2 separate regions of the Homo sapiens genome follow, and region 1 is linked to region 2. Evidence: promoter capture Hi-C in 16 types of primary human blood cells and fetal thymus (Javierre and others, 2016). All regions are on one chromosome and are shown on one strand. The core of a region is centred on a gene start or on the middle of the fragment in contact, and the rest is flanking DNA. Distances in the headings are between cores, read along the strand shown.

The links. The method cuts DNA at HindIII sites, captures the fragments that hold promoters and counts their contacts. A CHiCAGO score of 5 or more calls a contact.
Region 1: a fragment that was not itself captured here is called in contact with the fragment with the promoter of SCN2A in region 2 in 3 of 17 cell types (naive B cells, total B cells and fetal thymus); the score reaches 6.4 in naive B cells.

What each region holds. Positions count from the first base shown.
Region 1 is chr2:164,730,136-164,733,946 of GRCh38, forward strand. All of the region lies in intron 3 of COBLL1 (cordon-bleu WH2 repeat protein like 1), which reads right to left. Among named protein-coding and RNA genes, the nearest start is that of SNORA70F, 44 kb to the left of the region's middle. The HindIII fragment of the contact is 6,157 bases long and covers 1-3,811 here.
Region 2 is chr2:165,236,736-165,240,831 of GRCh38, forward strand. SCN2A (sodium voltage-gated channel alpha subunit 2) reads left to right here and starts at 2,679. Exons shown (of 27, transcript NM_001040142.2): 1 at 2,679-2,905. The HindIII fragment of the contact is 782 bases long and covers 2,385-3,166 here.

The DNA of each region.
Region 1 (3,811 bases), core at 884-3,383, 510 kb before region 2:
ATTACCCGTTATTGTTTTGAGGATTTTCTTAGAATGCTTGTCTTCAATAGATAAACAAGTCTACAAGATAGTTTTTGGAAAAGCAGCTTAAATATTGAACTACAGGTCAAGCTACAGGCCAAGGCAGGAGGACTGCTTGAGCCCAGGAGTTGGAGACCAGCCTGGGCAACATGGCAAGACCCTGTATCTACAAAAAATAAAAAAAAAAAACAATAGCCTGCTGTGGTGGGTGTGTGCCTGTAGTCCCACCTACTCAGGAGGTGGAGGCCAGAGAACAACACGAGCTCTGGAAGTTGAGGTTGCAATGAGCCGAGATCGCGCCACTGCACTCCAGCCTGGGCAACAGAGCAAGACCCTGTCATAATAATAATAACAATAAAAACAACAACAACAACAACAACAAAAATAATCTCCAAAAAAATTGAACTACAAGATATTTAAACAGACAAAATTGTAATAGTTAAAAAGTCCTGGGATAGTCAAGAGAGCATAGATCCTAGTGTCAGTTCAACAACTACTTTTATGTTTTTACCAAATTGTTTCCAAATTATAAATTTCAGGAGGAGGAGTCCTTTCCTTACCCAAGAGCAGTCCTTCACAACACATTATTTGTAATATAACATTGGCAGTCTTTAGCTTATGAATTGGTTACAAAGTTCTCATAAGAATGAAGCATTTGGAACCACCACCACCACTTTTTGGCTTTAGAAAACAGACTGTAAATATCTGCATAGGAAGTCCACAAAATCCTAAAAGGTGTAGTACAAATTCTTTAATCATCCAAAGGTTATGAATATTCTCTAGGCACTGGAATCACAGTACAAGTATTATAGTATATCTGTTCTCATAGATCTAACACTCTACTGGATGAACTAAACCAAGTGTCAGCAAACCACAATGTGCAGGTCAAAATGGGCCCACAGTCTGTTTTTGTAAATACAGTTGTATTAGAAAATAGTCATGCCCGTTTGTTTATATAACGTCTCAGGCTGCTTTTGTGTTAGTTACAACAGCAGAATGGAGTAGGGTGACCACACCTACTATATAGGCATAGCCCACAAAGCCTACTATTTTTATTTCCTGGCCCATGATAGAAAACGCTTATCAGCTCTTGTGCTAGAACATAAAATTGAAATAAAGTAAATGCATGAGATAATTTCAAATAATGAATGAATGTTTAATACTATTGGTAATACAGGACTTATTTCTATAGAAACTTTCATACCCAACTTGGAATTCAGGGATACTTACCAATTTTTTGCTTCCCTTTCCATAGATTCTCATTGTTGACACAGACTTATATTTTCATTCATATCACTGACAGAACAACATAGTCTCTGAGTCTTTCTTAATACTGTCATCCCTTAAGGAAAGCACACTAAAAAATCTTTGGTATCATGTGCTTTCCCCAAATGTCAGGTGATCCTAAACTGTTAGTTCACACTTAAGAATAAGGCACTAAACCGCAGTGTGTACATCGTATTTTTACAGATGGAGGCATAGGTTCATGGGATTCACTTTAGGGTAATCGGGTAGCCAGCCATCTGCATCCCACCTCGAAAGGGAAATGCACATATCAGTAAAAAGTTATTCTCCAATTTCTTGACTAGAGATATAAACCTGGTTACTGGCTTTTGGGAACTTGACAGGGAAATGGGGCTAGAAATCCCACCATTCAGTATGCTACTTTTATTTTAGTGCACCTGTTTTCATACGGCACGTCACCCCTAGTAAGCTCCCAGGCCTGCAGCCTCTGATGCAGTTCTTCCAGACAAGGAGTCTCCTGCAGAGGTGGGGAAGGATTCACTGTCGGACACTGTGTGGTCTTGAAGTCAAACAACACGTTACATAGATTTCAGATCATCCCGTGTTCAGCCCCCATCTCTACTTTCTGTGGTCGCTGCCTACTCCTAGGCCAGTCCAATCTTTATGGGATAAGGAGTATGTTTCTCAACGGTCCCTCACACATCCCTTCTCCCCCACATACAAGTAGCACCCTATTACTTGTATATATATAAAGAAAAATAAATAAATCAAAGGTTCTAAGTCCCTCAATTTAAAAAAAATTCTCAGGAATACATTTCAATTCTCAAAATACATTTCCTGTGTCTTTATTAGATGGTTGCATAATATTTAAGAGTTTTACATCCTTCTTTTGAGCCACAGGCTATGCCCATAAATGTATCTATATTGCCCATGTTTTGGCTTTAAACAGGACATTTTAAATTTCATCCAGAGAGAGACTAGCAAAATGGTCTTGTGGAAGTTGATTTTTTGGTAATATGGTACTCTACAAGAGCAATTGGATGGCACATACCAATTCTAGACTTGGAAATAGTACTTTCTTTGATAGTAAATAAAGTTAAGAAGGATTAGGTAATGTCTAGTTATATACTATTATAAATGCAGTTTAGCTGGAAGAGAAGAGAACTTTCATTGCCAACTGAAGGGGTAGCTGTCTGCTGTTGTCTATGAGTAAATGATGATACATGCAGACTGTATTTCTTTCTCTCTATATATAAATGTGTCAAGTAATAAATGTAAAAACATTGAAGCTCATTCTTCCAACATCTTTTACTTCTTAAATATACAGTTTTTTTGAATCTTTGCCAGAAATACATAAGTTAACAAGACAAATGGCCGGGTGCGGTGGCTCACGCCTGTAATCCCAGCACTTTGGGAGGCCGAGGCAGGCGGATCATGACGTCAGGAGATCAAGGCCATCCTGGCTAACGTGGTGAAACCCCATCTCTACTAAAAATACAAAAAATTAGCCAGGCATGGTGGCAGGTGTCTGTAGTCCCAGCTACTTGGGAGGCTGAGGCAGGAGAATAGCGTGAACCTGGGAAGCGGAGCTTGCAGTGAGCCGAGATCACGCCACTGCACTCCAGCCTGGGTAACAGAGAAAGACTCCATCTCAAAAAACAAAACAAAACAAAACACAAAACAAAAAATTATTAAAGTTTTGTTTGGTTTTTATCCCTATTTTTGTGCCATAATTTTCATCGTTTATGTATAAACATATAAACATTTAAAATACATTTTTGATTTTTTTAAAAAGAACAATTTGATTCCTTGTGTAGAAACATTGGTATTTCTATCTGTGATAAATTAATTTTCTAATCTAATAAATAGTGTGGGTAATTGGTTAAGAATATTAACATAATGGCCTATTCCCTCAGTCATTTTATTTATCTAGAAACTTTACACACTATATCAGATATCATGAGAAAAAAGTTGCCGACTATATCATGACCTTTGCACTCAACACTGCCTATATGTTTTCTACTAAAAATGCCTCTTTGAGAGGCAACTGAAAACCACAGAAGTTCTTTATGAGTTTATTCTCTCATTTTATAATTCTAGGTCCAATTCTTTATTCAATAATTTCAGAAGCCAAATTTGTCTTGAAAATATTCCTATTGCCAGACAAATAAATGCAGCAATCCAGAAAGTTCTGCAATAGACATAACTACATATGTGAATTTAATACTGCATATGAATTGTTTCTGGGGAAACAACTGAATTTTCAGTAAGTGGTACTGGGAAAACTATCGGATGAAAAAGAAAAGTTGTGTATCTAACCTGATTCCTTACACCAAAGTAAGCTCCATGTGGATCTTTCTATGGTTTGTGTTTTACAGTAATATGCCCAATGGAATTTTCTGCACTGATGGAAACGTTCTATATCTGCACTAACACAGTGGTTACTGGGATAGTGGACTCCCAAACCAAATTTTTTATTCAAATTAATTTAAATTCAATATAAGTAGACACATTTGGTGAATGGCTGCCATACTGGATAGAGTAA
Region 2 (4,096 bases), core at 1,429-3,928:
GTGGTCTAATTTCAACACTGGCATCATTAACCTAACATATTTATGGAATATTCACTATATGTTCTGTTTTCTGCTTAAGTATATGAATTAAACATAGTTTAAATAGTTTACTCAAAGAACATGCCATTTGCTTCATTGATTTCACACTCTCTGACGTATGTATTAATAAGAACATAGGAATCCACACACAGAAATAATAGCATTCCTATGGTGCATTAATAAAAATGTATGAATTTTCTATGTCTAGGACATGTATTCATTATTTGGGTGGGTCTTATATTTCAGGTACTGTTCTGTGAACCACGTTTATGGAAGTGATCAAAACAGGCAAACATCTCTGCCTTCATGGAATTTACATTTTTCTTGGAGGAGGCAGACAATAGACAAAATATTTAGTATGTCAGCTAAATACTAAAGGGAAAAACCAGAGGAGGGGATAGTGTGTGGTATTGAGGGTCAAGGCCAGTCTCAGTAAGAAGGCAGCTGTGAGCTGTGACAAGAATGAGGGAAGTGAGCCATACGGAGCCCATGTAAGAGATTTCCAGGCAAAGAGATTAAAAGGTGGACGCCTCCTAAGGAATGGACATACCTGCCATGTTTGAGTAATGAGAAAGAAGATAAAATGGCTAAAGTAGAGTGAGTGAGGGCAAGAATAACATCAGAGAAGTAAAGGAGTCTAGATTGTGAGCATTGTGAACACTGGGGAAGGCATAGACTATTCACAAGGAGATGGGTAGCTACTAAAAAGTTTTGAGAAGAAGAGTATGTGATATGATTTAGGGTTGAAAAGGATTGCTCCAGTTTCTGTGTCATATAACCCTATGGTCTTGAAACTGGGATATTGTATCCCTGGGGGCATGAGGTGGCGTGCCTAGAGGTACACAAAATCCCAGGATCAGTTAGTCACATCTTCCCTAAGGATAAAATTTACCCTCAAGACTATGGGGAAAAATGATTACTGTGTTAAGAAAAACATTTAAATTTTATATAAATTATTGTAAAATTCCCGTGATTTTAAAAATAAAGTATCAATAATATTTCATATTTGTGGCATCTTAGGCTTTAATCTTACAGGTTTAAGCTTCTTGGCCATCAGGAGTAATTTGTTGAAATTGCAAATTAATTTGGCAAAATTATCATAATTATGTGCCCTGAGAGCTTATGTATCTTATGATAGTGCAGGAAACTTGTGAGATGAAATAGTTGAGTGTATACATTAAAATAATTTGATCTACCAAGTCACTTTAATTATTTATTTGTTCAGTGTTAAAAATATATTTTCATAACCAAACTAATACATCTTAATAATGTTGTAGAAATGGAAGTAAGGTAAAATTTAAGAAACTGGGTTTGTTCTTCTGACTTGCTTATTAATACTGGATAAGTTACTGAAGAGTGGGCTTTGGTTTCCTCGTCTATTTAATAGTGTGGGAACAACCTTATGTTAAAGCAATCTATTCAGTATAACTTTAGCACACAGAAAATAAAATATTATGAATCCAAAGAAAGTGTAGCTTGCAATCATGTATTTTATTAAATGTATTTATCAGCATTTTGGCTTCTGATGGACATGTGTATATACATATTTTGTGGATAAAAAAATTACTTAACTATTTTTATATTAGATACTATCAATTATTCTGGCTGATCTGGGGACTTTTAATGGTAAATTTTATATCAAATCTGACAAAGACAGTATTTCAGACCCGTTTAAGACCTAGAACTCACCATGAGTTCTAAAATTGGTTCTCAGCACCATGGACAGCGTTACTGCAATAGGAAATTAAAGATCGATTTGGCCCCAAATTAAAATGGTGTTGTAAAAAAGTGGGAGAAAAAAAATGCCTATCCTTTTACTTCAAATTTTAAAAAAATGATCCTGGCCTTCACAACTGTTCATAAGAAGAATAATTAATTAAACAAACATATATTGAGAACATCATATGCTCAGTAAAACTTTGATTCTATAAATGGTGTCATTTACCAAATGGATTCTTTTGACAATTTAATTTTCTCTTATCTCTCTAAGAAGATGTAACTACACACTATAGTATACTACTACAATTATCAAATTTCATGTTGCATGTAACTTGTCGTCTGTATTTTTGTAGTTAGATTAGATTAACTAAAGATTTTTCAAGTTTGCCTTTAAGTCATTTAATTTTCCTGCCTTATCTTTAACCTTTCAACATTCCTCCAAACAATAGCAACACAAGTGTTATGTGTTAACTTCTCTAGTGACAAAAACTTATACTTCTCCACAAAGAGATGTGATGTTCATTATCAATAAGCTTGACATCTAAAATTGTTTTATAGGAGATACATATTACTTTTTCAGATGGTATATAAAGTTAAATAAATCTTAAGTTTTCAATGATGGGAAAAGCTTCCATTTAGTTTAAACATAATGTAAAGAAATTTGAATCCCCAAAATAGAATTATAATTCTAAAAATTCATACTATAATTCTTCTTAAATGTTTAAATTACAGTTAATTAAAGTAGTTGATTTCAAATAGAGTGGAATTATGGGCTGTACATCATTTAATTTTATGTGCTGACTGCTACATAGCCAAAGGAACGTGAATTAAGATGGTTCCACTTTTGACCAGGAGATGGAGCTGTCATGTAAGATGCTGCCTTTATTTATTTATTTTTCTAATTTAGCATGCTGTTTTCTAACAGACATTGGGTACCATCGAATGACTGTCAGAACAGAAAGCTAAGGCAAAGGAGGGAGGATGCTGTGGTCATCCTTTCTTGTTTTTTTCTTCTTTAATGAGGATAGAGCACATGTGAGATTTTACTTTCTACTCCAGTAAAAATTCTGAAGAATTGCATTGGAGACTGTTATATTCAACACATACGTGGATTCTGTGTTATGATTTACATTTTTCTTTATTTCAGGTAAGCCAGCATGATTCTATTTTTGACTTATCCACGGATTGTTATCTATGTTAAGAATGACATTTAATATAAGATGTGTGCTTTGTTAGCTTGTATTCAGATCTAAGAGATTCAAAAGCTCTAATTCTAGCTGTTGTGCAATTTAAAATCTTCCTAGGCTGAAATGAGCTCTGACTATGACATACCGTGTTTTATTATTTCTTTGGCTTTCTAGCTGTTGGTCTCTGTCTCTGGCTGTATTTGTTTACCTTTTAAAGGTAAAGCTTTCAAAGTGAAGGATGGGTTTTCCTTTCACAAGGGAAATACTGCTCCTTAATGCAGTGAACAAATTGTAGAGATATAATGAAGCAGATTAACATGGCAGTGGCTCTGCCAAAGCTCAGGGCTGAGCCTTCTGATTGCAGCCTCAGAGGCAAGCCAATATTCTGAGTCCAAAGGCCTTTTGAACGATTTCTGCTGGCTATGATGGTACAGATTGTTTATGTCTTTATTTTTACCTCTTAGAAATAATACGTAAGTCATTTCTCCCACATGAATCAAGATTTATGTAATGTGTTTAATAGACTTGGAATGAGACTATAGACCCTCCCTCCTCCCCCAGTATGGATGTGAGGAGTATGCTGAACACAAATTAATTGCCATGAAAATTGATTTTTTCTGTATTTTATTGGATTTGGGATAATAGAACCGTGGCCATTTTAAATAGTTGATATTATAGAAGGTGCTCACATTTTAAATTATTTTAGGTCATGTGACATTATCTGTGTTAAAGAGTGGAATGACTCAGGAGGTGGAAGTTGCATGCAACAGCCTTGCTTCTCTCTGCTGCTTCTCGTGATTTCCCTTAAATCCTTGCTTGATTATTATTAGAATAACAGGAATAAAGACATATAGAAATCCTATATTTAAAAACCACTGATTTTCATTTAGAGAAATTTAAAGAGATTTTACAAATATTTTAAAAATAGTTTTGTAAGATTGTTTTTAAATGCCTCACTTCTTTCTCCTGTGGAAAGAGCTGTGTGTGTGTGTGTGTGTGTGTGTGTGTGTGTGTGATGGTGGAGGTGGCAGGCGGTGGAGGTGCATCAGGATGTTTTTATCTCAGTCATTGTTTTCCTGTAAAGAGGTAGTTTTGCCATGTCAGAGGTTGTGAAAGCTATGGGGAATGATTTTATAAAATGGTTTGGACAA